Regions from separate parts of the Homo sapiens genome. Here regions 1 and 2 are each linked to region 3. Evidence: promoter capture Hi-C in human tissues and cell types (Jung and others, 2019). All regions are on one chromosome and are shown on one strand. Each heading gives the region's core, a stretch centred on a gene start or on the middle of the fragment in contact. The rest is flanking DNA. Distances are from core to core; before and after follow the strand shown.

Region 1 (4,542 bases), core at 1,613-4,112, 1.0 Mb before region 3:
TGTTAATATTCAAGTATAATTTTACCTAGCAGTAAAGTTATATTTTGCACATCAAAAGCAAAATGAAGCATTAAGAAATTTAGTTATATACATTCTTTCATATCCCTTTACATAAGCAGAATACAAAGTACTTACTTTTTTTCCCCCAAATGAATACAGGATTTCAACAACATTAAGACATGATTATTTTCACTTACTCCCATATAATAGGTATTCTTATTAAAGAAAACATCTTAATGTCACCATATATGAATTCATCTAATCTCTGAGTACTCATTTATCATCTCTACAACTACACATTTGACAGAACCAAACTGTGGCCCTAAGAAACAAGAATTACTGGCATAGCTAAGAATTCAAGAAATCAGAATACAGTCTCCAATTATGCATTTACTTCAAATAAGAACAATAACTTGAAACTCTGTGTTAGGCTTTGAATTCACCTCCAGCCTGACTTTAAAAAGCTACCATGAGGCCTAACTCCAGCTGGCAGTAGTAAACATCCCTGGCTATCTAACAATATTTTTATAAACAAAGCATCATAAAGAACATAACGTTCAAACGGCATGGAAACTGTTTTCCACGGTCCATATTTGACAATCTTTCAAAAAAATGTTAATATTACACATATTAGCACTGTGTAATATATAAGATGTAACCCCCTCTTCACACCAAGATCAGTTGCAAAAGAACACTATGATCATATTTCAGAAAGTAACATGTAAGGAAAAAGAAAAAATAAAGAACACTATGACCTTGGCAAAATTCTCAAGTGTTCAGACAGAAACTTCTAGAAGTGCTTGTTTGTTTGTTTTCAAATTCTGCTTTTTGAAATTACTCACTTGATTTTTAGGCCAGAAAGGATGCAAACGTCTGAATTTCTGCAGTCACCTCCCTCCCACTGCTTTTAATTGCTCTATAAAGCAATCCCTGTGGATACCTATCTTAAACTGCCCTGGCCTTGCCAGGACAAATGTTGGCCCATGTATTCCAGTAAAGCCATGAGTATTCTGAAGGTCAAACAAAATACATATTATTTCCAATCAGAAAGGAAGCCTGTGCTTTCTGGAATAAGGCCCCAGCTCAACCTTGACTTGGTGCGCTATGAGGCAAATAAACCAAGAACTGGGAATGGCCTTCCTTTTTAATCAGTACTTTCTGAAGGATGCTACTGATAACAGAAAAAAAAAAAAAAAGTCAATATACTTGATAATTCACATCTCCCTCTGTCTTGGCTGGAGTTTTTTACAGATGCATTTACAGATATTTAAAATAATGATCATAAATAAAGCTTTAAGTTTAGAGTATATAAATTTTTATTTTTCCCCCACTCCTGAAAAAGGCTTGATGGTTACTTAGCTTTTTCTTTTCCTTTTTTTTCTATTTTACCAAACAAGTTTCCACAAGTCCTTCCTACGCGTGTCCTCACAGCCAAGCAAAGAGCAGTGAGATTTCTCACCATTAATTCACTCTTCATTTCACATGTTCCTACAGCACCAGCTGTTAGTTTATATTTTCAGTCTTTACTATTAAAAAAAAATTTCAACTGCAACTGCACCATTTCCCCTTAGCCCCAGCCTTTTTTTTTTTTTTTTTTTTTTTTTTTTTTTTTTTTTTTTTTTAGGAAAGTTTAGGACAGCAGAAAAACTGCTGAGCTGTGACACAAAGAAAAGCTGACTCTGCACATGCCTCATTGTTTTCTATTTTCATTCCAGCACAGTTGTGGCTGGAAACCAGCCTTCAGGATTCCCCGTGGACCTTGCCAGCCCTGGTCCCTGGTGTTTTAAAATGTTACACTTTATACACTACTCATAGAGGTGTGATTCAATTGAGTATGTTCCCTGTGGTTCTGAGTGAGGCTAATATATATCATGTATCTTTGGAGAAGTAACCAAAATATGTGTTTAGGGAAAAGGAAAAAAATAGGATCAAGGGAGTATTCAGAGATGTAATTACACATACTCAAGTGGGACCTTTTGTGTGTGTGTCTTGGAGGTGGGAGATTTAATGTAAACACAGACCACGTTTGTGCTTTCTGTTATACACATCCTGCATCACCACACACTGAGCACACATGTGTTAAAATGCTGACACATTCATTACAAGAACATCATTTATCCTATTACAAGTTTTAGAGTTTTGCATGTCTTTTGTTGATGGTGGGGTTTTTTCCAGATTTTCTTAGTTTTCTTCCTCAAATACACTTGATAACTTATTTTTAAATGTGAGAGCATTATTATAACACCAACAGCATCCTCCTGCAATCTATGGACACAGATTATTTTGCCAGAGTAAAACAGATTCCAAAAGGCTGTTCACACCTTCTTTGGGGGACCTAAAACACAGGGTCCAGGAAGAGCTCAGAAACAATCCTTAAATCCTGATCATCGCCAGGTGTGGTGGTTCATGCCTGTAATCCCAACACTTTGGGAGGCCGAGGCAGGTGGATCATGAGGTTAAGAGTTCAAGACCAGCCTGGCCAACATGGTGAAACCGTGTCTCTACTAAGAATACAAAAATTACCCAGGCATGGTGGCATGCGCCTGTAATCCCAGCTACCTAGGAGGCTGAGGCAGGAGAATCACTTGAACTCGAGAGGCAGGGGTTGCAGTGAGCTGAGATCGCGCCACTGTATTCCAGCCTGGGTGACAGAGCAAGACTCCGTCTGGGAAAAAAAAAAAATCCCGACCATCATCCCACTCCACTGACCTTGTAAGCGAGGCCACTCCTCAAAGAGCTAGGGATCCCACAGGCTAAAAATAACCCTTTGACCCACATAGAAATTACAACTCAGAGGAAGCTGAGACAATTCATCCACTGAGAGCCATTCTCCTGTTTGGAGAGGGCCTACAGGCATCAGCAGCACCTAAACATACAGCCTTTCCTGGTCATGATTTATTTCTTAGCATGACAGTAAATCCATAGCTTACAATAGCAGGACGTTGCTGTCAGACACCAAGGTCTCTCAGCATAGCCACTATCCTGAAGTCATGAATCACACCTCCAAGTCCAGTGACAGGTTCAGAGGCTTTACCACCCCCTCCCTCCCCTAAATCCACAGGATGCCCACTCTGCTTCTCTGCTCATGCGATGATTTCATTAGTTCAAAGATATTCTGCCTTCTATCATTTTTCTCCTTACAGTTCTTAAGAGAATGAACCAGCTTCAGAAAATGGGGAAAGAAAAAACAAACTGATCATCAGATGAGGGTTCAAATCTTGAACTGGCTTCTTAGAAGCTGTGTCACTTTATGCAAGCCACAGTCTTTCTCAGTCTTAGTTCCAGATAAACAGTGAATAGCAGCACATTCTTTATGAGATTATTATAAGACTCAAATGAGAGAATACACAAGAAAATACCTAGCACATATTAAATGCCTGCTAACCTTTTACCTATGAGCAATCATAATGCTCAATTCATACTTTTCAGAGGGTGTAGTCATTCAATAATAAAGACCAGTAGAAATATTTTAAATCTTTTGTAATCTTCTCAGCCAGGTTTGGGACAGCAACTGAACTGTCCAACCTCTCTCTAAAGGCATTACATCATAACTGTAATTACACCAGGCTGTAACTGATATCAATGTAAATACACCTACTGTACTACACCATAACAACATCACTGTTATGGTACTATAAAGTATTACAGGCATAGATGTTAACTGCCACAGTATTTATAATAAACAAATACTTTAAAATAACCAGCCGGGCACGGTGGCTCACACCTGTAATCCCAGCACTTTGGGAGGCCGAGGCGGGCGGATCATGAGGTCAGGAGATCGAGACCATCCTGGCTAACACGTTGAAACCCCGTCTGTACTAAAAAAATACAAAAAAATTAGCTGGGCGGGGTGGCGGGCACCTGTAGTCCCAGCTACTCGGGAGGCTGAGGCAGGAGAATGGCGTGAACCCAGGAGGCGGAGCTTGCAGTGAGCAGAGATTGCACCACTGCACTCCAGCCTGGGTGACACAGCGAGACTCCGTCTAAAATAATAATAACCTAAATGTTCATCAAAAAGGGTGTATCTATATCATGAAATACATATGCTGCATTTAAAACACTGTTATTTGTACAGACAGAAATATCTTATGACATGTTCTTTTTGTATGTAAAGAATGATACAATTTATTAACCTTCTAAAACTATGTGTATTTGTCCATATGCATGCACATACATGCATAGAAAAAGGATTAAATGGATAACTCTAACTATAAATGGTTCTTACCTAAGGTAGGGGTGATGCTAGAGACGGGTTGGAGACACGAGAGGAACTCTGACTTTGCTCTCCATCCTTCTATGAGGTTGACACAAAAGTAATTGCAGTTTTTTCCATTAAAAGTAATAGTAATGGCCGGGCACAGTGGCTCATGACTGTAATCCCAGCACTTGGGAGACTGAGGCAGGCAGATCACCCAAGGTCAGGGGTTCGAGAGCAACCTGGCCAACATGGTGAAACCCTGCCTCTACTAAAAATACAAACATTAGCCAGGTATGGTGGCACACGCCTATAATCCCAGCTACTTGGGAGGCTGAGGCATGAGA
Region 2 (4,664 bases), core at 1,489-3,988, 1.3 Mb before region 3:
TAAAACCTAACTTCTCATTGTACATTAATTCCATAGCCATTTATTAAATCCATACTATGTGAACAGCCATGTGCTAGGTATTAGGGATGGGATCATTGACAAAGGGGGAAAAAGTACCCATTATAAATTAACTAATACAAGCTAACAATGTCCAGGCCTATGGGACCAAGCACTTTACATGTATTATGTCACTTTATCTAATTTAATCCCTATAGCAAAACCAAGCAAGTATTTTATCCATGTTACATTTTTGAAATAGGAGTGTCACAGATATTGAATAACTTGCCCAAGTTACACGGCTAGTATAAAGTTTATAAACAATTTGACACTGTAGCCACTATTCTATTTGTGCGCCCTACCCCCCAATAAAGACAAGAAACCAAACTAAGAAACAAACCAAACCTCAAGAGTTGTCTCCATTTGTAGATCTTTTGTTCGTCAATAAATTCAATATAGTCTTTCTGTCTCACTCCAAAGCTGCTCTTTCTGAAGGCTCTAATGACTATCTCTGATCAATTCTGTATCCTCACTACTTCTGTGAAGCATTTGCTATAGCTGACCACTTTCTTCTAATTGTAAAACTTTCTGCTCTTGACTTCTATGACATCACCTTCTTACCTCACAGACTACTACTTCTCAGTCTCTTGCTGGTTCTTCCTCCTCCTCTGCTCAACTATGAAATGTTGGAAGTTATCATAGCCCAACTCTCCATCTACAATCTTTGCTTAGATAATATCGTATAGTCCAAGACTAGGTTTCATCTATAAATTCATAACTGCCAAGTTTATTTCTTCACCCTGAACTATACCCCAGACCAATATATTCATCTGTTTCTTTGACATCATCACTTGCATATCTTGGACTTGATTATTGTTAACGACCTCCCGATAATGACCACCAGGAACACAACTATAGCTGAGCAACTTGGATGTATTGCTTGTTTCAGTACGTGAGAATGCACACCATGGGGAACCATGGGATGTCTTAGGAAGAGGGTGTTAAAAAGGACTTGTTATAGAATTTGAGTTTGTGTTAGGAGATTTACGGAAGGGTGCAAGAAAGAGGGACTTTGGCCTGGATTGGAAGCTGTAAGGAAGCAAGGATAATTCTATAATTGGGTATTTTAATAAGTATTATGTAGAAGGAAGGAAGACTAGACTGAGGTTAAAACTATAATTGGTAAAGAAGCAGCAGGCACTCATATTAGCTAGGATAAGGAGATATTTGATCATTTTTATGGCTTGGGCAATGTTGATGTTGTGTCTGTGTTCACATATGATTATAGAGTGATCTTACTTTTGTCTTGATCTATCACGGTCACAACTCTGTCTTGTCTGATGTTCTGTGAAATTGTTTATGTTCAACAGAAGAATACCAATGCTTGGCTGTGATTGCCAGGCCAGCTCAAAGCAACAGCAAACCAAGCTGGTAGTACCAGGCCATCTCCTGGATGTCAAGGTCTGCTTTTCTCTTTCTCGGTATCCACACTAGAATCCTTGATTTACTCTCTTCCACCTCACTCAATCAAAAACCATTACCTCACAGACTTCCCTTCTATGTGGCACTACCACCCACACATATGCTAGCCCAAAACCTAAGATTCACTGTTGATGATGCCCTTTTCTTCATTTTCCATAGCCAATCACCAAATCCCATTGTCTTCTTTCTTTTATTTCTTCCGCCATTGTTCTGGTCCAAACTACCATTATGTTTCTCCTAAACATAAAGTGCATCCTATTTCCTCTGCTTCCACACTTGCCCCTCTACAATCCATTCTCTTCATAACAGATAGATCATATTACTCCCTTGCTTTAAAACTTTCAAATAGCTTCCAATTGTACTCAGAACAAACACTAAACTTCTTACCCTGGCTTTCAAGGACCCTGGTCTGGCTTCTGCCTAACTCTCCACCTTCATCTATCTGGGACTATCTTGCGGCTCACTCACTATGCTTCCCCCACACTGGCCTTTCCTGCCCTGCCCCTGCAACATACCAAGTTCCTCTTTCTCTCTGCATTTGCCCTATCCTTTCTTTGCCAGGACAACAGTCTCCCTACCAGCTCTTTCTCATCCAGGTCTCTTTGAGAGGGCTTCCCTGACCATCTAGATGCCACCTTCCTGGTCAGTATTTCCCTCAAGTAGTAATCAATGCCGGAAAGAATACTGTTCATTTATTCATCCGTTATTGTCATCGCTTCATTGGAATTTAGCTTCCTACAGGGATGGTGTTTATCTTGCTCACTATGATTCCAGCCCCTAGAAAAACCCACCTACCTCATAGCCAAGGGCTCAGTAAATAGTATACACTGCCTTCCTGCCACTGTGCTAATTTCTACTAACACAGCCACAAACAATCAGCAATTACATTTTCTGCTTGTTTTTAACGGGGAAGTAGGGCACTCAACGAAAAGGAAATAAAAGCAGAGTCAAGAAAGTGCCTTTTATCCATGGAGTGCCCAATGTGTTGTGCGGCCGGCCACGTATATAGGGATGTGTCAGCACCTGAGATTTTTCCTTCTCTGAGCTAGCTTCTTTCCTGGAAATCATGCTGGGCCCTTAGCCTTATGGTTCACCCTGTTTTTTAAGATCATCCACGGGCTTCATTCCCGTAACCGCTCTTCTAGCTGGCCAAGGCGGCGGGAAGAAACCCCACCCTCTTGCGCAAACGCCCAGTAGCGGAATCCGCGGGGTCGAGGGCTTTAGTGTGCGCATGTGCAACCAGAGCGGCGGCGGGAAGTGTTGCGCAGGCGCATCCGATCGACTCGGTAGGTGGGGATCTCTTGGAGACGGCGACCCAGGCATCTGGGGAGCCACAGAAGTCGTACTCCCTTAAACCGTGAGTTTCCGACGGTTTGTTCCATGGCGCGGGATTGTGAGGGATTAGGAACGAATTCTGGATCGTGACTTCGGTTTTCTCGCCGTGCAGTTCCTTTTCCCGCCCCCCTTCGGATCCCTCCGACCTGCGGCGGGAAAGTCGCGCGCCTGCGCACTAAGCATCTGGTTCGGTCTCTGGCCCGAGGGAAGCCGGTCCTTCCCGGCTGAGCTCGCGGCCAGCGCTGGCCGGCGGATTCCCATTCATTCACCCTTCTCCTCCTCCGCCCAGTACTCGTGGCCAGGGTCGTATCAGTTCTCCGTCAACTTGCTTGGGGCCTTGGACGAGCCTCCTGGCGCTTCCTGTCAGTGGCGAAAAGGTTTTCTCCCTCAGTTCTTTTCCTGACTTCAAACCGCCCCCGGCGCTCGGCCCCTCCCCCACGCGGTCCCGCTGGCTGTGCCGGACTGGCAGCCTCGCCGTTTCCCACTGCGCCTGCTGCTGCGCGGGTGCCCAAGCCGGGAAATTCTCCCTGCAGCCCCCTGCCGGTGTTTCTGATAGGTGAAAATAAAGCACATGGAATTCCTTAGACAAGGCCACAGTATGCCCTACTGTGGAGGTTTGGACACATCGTGCGTTTGAAAATGTTTGCCCCTTTGGGGGGCAGTAGCATGTTTTTAGTGCGTGGTTTAGCGAGTGATCTAAATTTCTCTAGTGTTCTAATTTTCACAGCTGCTTTGCTCCCCCTGTGGATGTAACCCCTTAGCTGGCATTTTGCATCTCAATTGGCTTGTGATGGAGGCGTCTTTGGGGATTCAGATGGATGAGCCAATGGCTTTTTCTCCCCAGCGTGACCGGTTTCAGGCTGAAGGCTCTTTAAAAAAAAACGAGCAGAATTTTAAACTTGCAGGTACGTGTTTAAATCCAAAGATGTACAGTTATAAAGATTTTTCAGGCAACAATTCTGTGTTTTCAATTCCTCTCAAAAAATAAGATTGAATCTTATAAAGTGAATTGTATGTTTCTATAGGACAGTGTTAAAACAGAGCTTCGTATGATCTAAATGTAGGACTGAATTGCGATTTGGAAGACTGTAATACAACCTGTTTTACGGTTGAAGTTGCTATGGTCTCAGTATTGGTAATTAAGAATGCAGAAATTTGATGATGCCCAAATTAAATTTCTCTTTTGTATCTGTGTTCTTATCTCTACTCACCACATTGCCTTAAGCTTAAATGTAGAAATTGACACTGGAGATCATCACTTAAGTATTCAAAAGCAGAACTCACAGACAAAAAAATATGAAATGTTTGTAGCAATAATAAAGCACCATATCTCAGTGTACAGCATGAAATGTTCTTTGACCGTAAACCAGACCTTAGGGTGAATAAGACAGGGTCAAGCAGTGCCTGCTCTTGTACACTCGCATGTGTACCTTCATTTCTGCTCTGGCACAGGACCTGGGACATAGTAGGTATTTGTTAATAATAAATATTTGTTAAATAGAGGAATTCTAGTTGACTGTATTTTTTTTTTTCTGAAAGGGTAGCCAGATCATCTTTCCCATCTTTGTCTTAAGTGAATTCTGTGCTTGTCTAAAAGATACTTATTTTGACCTTTTGTCCATATATTCTTTATAACCCCACCCTAGAAAAATATGACATCACATACTTTCTGCTTTGATGGAAGTCAGTTATCCCACTTACCTAAACTTGAAACTTTAATCTTCAGCTGATGCTTTTTATTTGTTCCCCATATCGTCACCTAGCTTTATTTCTTTTTAGTAAGTATGGCATTGTGTCTTCTTTCCATTCCCATTTCCACCACATTAATTAATTTCCTTACACTTTGTTCC
Region 3 (4,579 bases), core at 2,080-4,579:
GAATAATAAATAACAAATAGCTCCCATTCTAGCGCAGGTTTTTTGTTTTTTGGTTTTACAAGACAGGGTCTTACTGTATCACCCAGGCTGGAGTGCAGTGGCAAGATCATGACCCGCTGTAATCTCTGCCTCCTGGGCTCATGTGATCCTGCCGCTTCAGCCTCCCGAGTAGCTGGGACCACAGGCACGTACCACCACGCCCAGCTACAATTTTTATTTTTTGTAGAGATGAGGAGTTGTCATGTTGCCCAGGCTGGTCTCAAACTCCTGACTTCAAGTGATCCACCTGCTTAGGCTTCCCAAAGTCCTGGGATTACAGGGGTGAGCCATGACACCCAGCCAATGTTTTGTTTTTTATTTTGAAATAATTTCAAAACCACTGCTTGGGTTAAGAACCGTACAAAGAATTTCCATATACTCTTCTCCCAAGTTCCCCACTGTCACCATTTTAACACATTTTTGCCTTATTAATCTCTCTCTTTACATGCACATATATGTGTATGTATATACACACATGTAATTTTCTTCCTAAGCCATTTACTGGGACCAAGTTGCAGAAATAATGCCCACTACTCCAAAATAGTTCAGTGTGTATTACCTTAAAAAAAAAAAAGAACTCTCATTCATAACCAGTCTACCTATGAAAATCAGAATTTAGCCAGGCTTGGTGGCTCACACCTGTAATCCCAGCACTTTGGGAGGCCAAGGTGGGGGGTGGATCATCTGAGGTCAGGAGTTCGAGACCAGCCTGATCAATATGGAGAAACCCCGTCTCTACTAAAAATACAAAATTAGCCGGGCATAGTGGCACATGCCTGTAATCCTAGCTACTCGGGAGGCTGAGGCAGGAGAATCGCTTGAACCCAGGAGGCAGAGGTTGTGGTGAGCCGAGATTGCGCCATTGCACTCCAGCCTCAGCAACAAGAGCGAAACTCCATCTCAAAAAAAAATCAGAATTTAACATTGATTCATTACTATCACCTAATCCAGACTTCAGTAAAGTTTCACCGATTGTTCTGACAATGTCCTTTGAACAAAAGAAATACAAAGACTTCTTATTTCCCTTTTTCCTTTCTTGTCCAGGATGCAATATGGAATCACACATTGCATACAGTTGTCATGTCACTTTGGTCTCTTTCAGTCTGGAATATTGTTTAGGCTTTCCTTATCTTTCATGATCTTGTCATTTTTGAAGAGTACAGGCCAGTTACTTTGTAGAATTATCTAAATCTGGATTTACGTGTAGTTTCATCATGATTAGATTTGGTTGGTACATATTAGATAACTATTTTAGATTAGATTATGTAAATTTGGTAGGAAGTGTTTTGTGTTCTTCTCAGTGCATCAGGAGGCATATAATGTTAATTTATTTTTTCTTTGCTTTCCTTTTTCTTTTTCCCTAGAGATAGAGGTCTTCTTATGTGCCCAGGCTGGTCTCGAACTCCTGGGCTGAAGTGATCCTCCTGGCTCAGCCTCCCAAAATGTTGGGATTACAGGTGTGAACCTATAATGTTAATTCATCCCACTATTGGTGGTTTTTTAACTTTTACCACTTGAATAAGATGCTGTTGGCTGAGGATGCTGGACAATTACCCCCTAGCTCCTGGTGTCACCAACTGCACTGGCTGAACCAGCCATGCTAGCCACAGACCCCTGACTGTGACCAAGGGGAATAGGTATACATATTTTTAATTTTCTTGTTATGGATTTATAAGGTAAGAAGGAGAGGGATAAGGATGATAAAGTATATTTAATTTAACATGTTGTTTGTTTCATAACTTCTTTTTTTGGATTTTATTTTTTATAGAGACAGGGGCTCACCAAGTCTCCCAGGCTGGTCCCGAACTCCTGGGTTTAAGTGATCCTCCTGCCTTGGCCTCCCAAAATGCTGGGATTACAGGCCTGAGCCAGCACATCCAGCCTGCTTCATGACTTCTTTCTTTTTTTTTTTTTTTGAGACGGAGTCTCACTGTCGCCAGGCTGGAGTGCAGTGGTGTGATCTCGGCTCACTGCAACCTCTGCCTCCTGGGTTCAAGCGATTCTCCTGTCTCAGTCTCCCGAGTAGCTGGGACTACAGGTGCGTGCCACCATGCCCGGCTGGTTTTTGTATTTTTAGCAGAGATGGGGTTTCACCATGTTGTCCAGGATGGTCTCGATCTCTTGACCTCGCGATCCGCCTGCCTCGGCCTCCCAAAGCGCTGGGATTACAGGCGTGACCCACCGCACCTGGCCTGAGCTACCGTGCCCGGCCCACAACTTCTAAATATTCAGATGAATAGTATGTGGGTCTTCCTATGAACCCTTGCCCTAAAACATGCAGAAGTTAGGAGTCGGCCTGTTTCCAGGCAGACTTTCCTTCCTGATGCTTTTGCCTCCAGTGTAAGCAGGGCCTGACCAAGACATGGAGCACCTTTGGTAGGCTAATAACTTGATAATCCACCAAAATGAAGGTTTTTAAATATTTTCTATAAATACGAATTGAATACCTCTTTCTTTACCCTTTCAAAGGTGGCTCCACAAAAGTAGAATCACACTTCCTGTGAAAAGTGTTTTAAGTTTTCTCCTCTAGAGCTCTGTTGACATCGGCCATAGCGAACTCTGTTTATTTTTCCTATTATATAAGGAATTACAAGTTGGAATCAGAAGTAATTGGCATCCTAATCCTGATTTATTCTAGTGGCAGTGTTTTGGAGTCACTTAACCCTGTCATCCTGGTTGGCCGTCCCTTCTCCCAGCTCTAACGGTGAGCAGCTGATACCCTGCTAGGTGCTGGAGAGTCAGAGGTGGACATCAGGGCCCACCTCGAAAAGTTGACAGTCTGTGGTGGGCTGAAGCCAGTAGAAAGCTGCTGTAGGAAGGCAGAGGAGTGGCCCCTATCCCAGGCTTGGGGCTCTCAGGGAAGGCTTCCTGGGGGTGAGATGGGAGGGTGGGTCCATATGCTCTTGGACCAGAATGAGTAGCCCAGAGAAGGCAAGAGGGCTCCCAAGCAAACTTGTCCTATTTAATTTTTTTTTTTTTTCCTGCTTAGAAAAGCAAAATGCGTTATGAACAAAACAAAACAAAACAAAACAAAACAAAACAAAACAAAACAAAACAAAACGCTGTAGCAAAGAAAGCGAAAGGCTCCAGTAATCCTCCCTGCTCCTCCTCACCGCACGGATCCTGTGAGATACCCCGAGCATTGGAACCTGGAGAGCTTGGGCAGGCATTCACCCTCCTTCCAGCAGGGGGCGGAACGTAAAACGCCTTGTGGCCGACGCCCTCTCTCTTTCACACGTCACTGGCGTGACCGTCCGCGCTACATACTGCGCCTGCGCAAGGGCTGTGGCCCTTTTCCCACCCCCTAGCGCCGCTGGGCCTGCAGGTCTCTGTCGAGCAGCGGACGCCGGTCTCTGTTCCGCAGGATGGTGAGTGGATGCCTCGGTCTCGGGGCTTTAGATGCATGGAGGTTCCCTTTTCTTGCCCGTATGCCAGCCTAGGGCCCGTCTCGCGCGTCGCAGGGGCCGGATGGCGTTAGATTGCTAGCTCTGACTTGGTCGAGGTGCAGTTCCCAGCGTGGCCTTAAATGGCTGCCGCCCGGTGCGCGAACTTGGGGGGAGGGGTTGGCGAAGAAGGGTTGCGTGAGCTTGGACGGCGGATTGGGGAGAAGGGTGAGTTTAGTAGACAGCCTGAGTGCGGATACTGCCGTCTAGTGTGAGGGGGCGCTGGCAAGCGGCCGGGCGTGAGAGGTCGCAAGCAGTCGACCTCAGCCTAGCTGGGGAACGCCAGAATGGAGGGGGGCTGCAGGTCCTCGGGTCCCACTCGACCTCCGAGTACCGAGTACTTCGTGGGTTTTCCAGGAGAATGTCGGAGCCGGCAAGTCTTAGATTTAGGAAGCTTGTGCCCGTGGGCTGAGCAAGTGGCTTTTAAGCCAAAATTGTCAGTGGAGCTTGGAGGCCGAGGGGTCCCTGGGCCCCGGAAGCTCCTTTAACATGGAATACGTGCCTCCTGCCTCTTCCTCTAGAGTCCGTCGCCGGATGAGTTTTTAATTATTGGGGTAGGGCCCCAAGGGTGGGATGAAATGTTGCTTTAGCTGATGGGGAACAGTGCTGTTTTAGTGGGGGAATTACTGCTGAATGTGCTCTTGCCCAGTTAAGCTTTGTGGCAGGTAATTTAGGCTTTTGAAAAACATAACATGGGAAGCGAGAGAGGTACGTAGTTGTTATTTGAGGCTAGGTTTTCGAAGTGGGACATAGCGTGTTCCGAACAAACCGACGTTTGGCATCACTGATTGCTGTCTGGAGCAGTGCTTCGCAAAAGTTTGGCACAATTACCGGTGCTGGTCCTTGAAGAAACAAATATGGAAATTGAAAGCGTTTAAAACCTTTTGAAAGCAATATAACAATAATTTTATACCTGTTAAATGTAATAAATTGGGGCCTGCATTTTGTATGTTTCTTTTATTCCATATTTCTCTAAGGATTCATTTTTATTGTTTTATGAAACTACTAGTCTGTGACATGGAAGGTAGAGGAAAAAGATTCTTGACCCTAGTTGCTTGTGAAACCTGGGATTCTACAAGTGACAGTTGTCTGTTTAC

Evidence for each region. Contacts are between HindIII fragments. The study calls those that stand out against the background at their distance.
Region 1: a contact is called between a fragment that was not itself captured here and the fragment with the promoter of RPL5 in region 3, in 1 of the 25 tissues and cell types used here (aorta).
Region 2: the fragment with the promoter of CDC7 here is called in contact with the fragment with the promoter of RPL5 in region 3 in 1 of the 25 tissues and cell types used here (lymphoblastoid cells).

What each region holds. Positions count from the first base shown.
Region 1 is chr1:91,816,700-91,821,241 of GRCh38, forward strand. All of the region lies in intron 2 of TGFBR3 (transforming growth factor beta receptor 3), which reads right to left. Among named protein-coding and RNA genes, the nearest start is that of TGFBR3, 67 kb to the right of the region's middle. The HindIII fragment of the contact is 7,778 bases long and covers 1-4,542 here.
Region 2 is chr1:91,498,113-91,502,776 of GRCh38, forward strand. It overlaps CDC7 (cell division cycle 7), which reads left to right and starts at 2,739. Exons shown (of 12, transcript NM_003503.4): 1 at 2,739-2,836; 2 at 3,542-3,719. The coding sequence starts at 3,605. LOC105378856 (a long non-coding RNA gene) reads right to left here and starts at 2,736. Exons shown (of 3, transcript XR_947599.4): 1 at 403-2,736. RefSeq lists an enhancer at 3,381-3,580. The HindIII fragment of the contact is 7,471 bases long and covers 1-4,664 here.
Region 3 is chr1:92,828,711-92,833,289 of GRCh38, forward strand. It overlaps RPL5 (ribosomal protein L5), which reads left to right and starts at 3,330. Exons shown (of 8, transcript NM_000969.5): 1 at 3,330-3,407. The coding sequence starts at 3,405. It also overlaps a transcript of DIPK1A not described here. RefSeq lists enhancers at 3,079-3,128, 3,132-3,770, 3,299-3,618, 3,771-4,408. The HindIII fragment of the contact is 19,619 bases long and covers 1-4,579 here.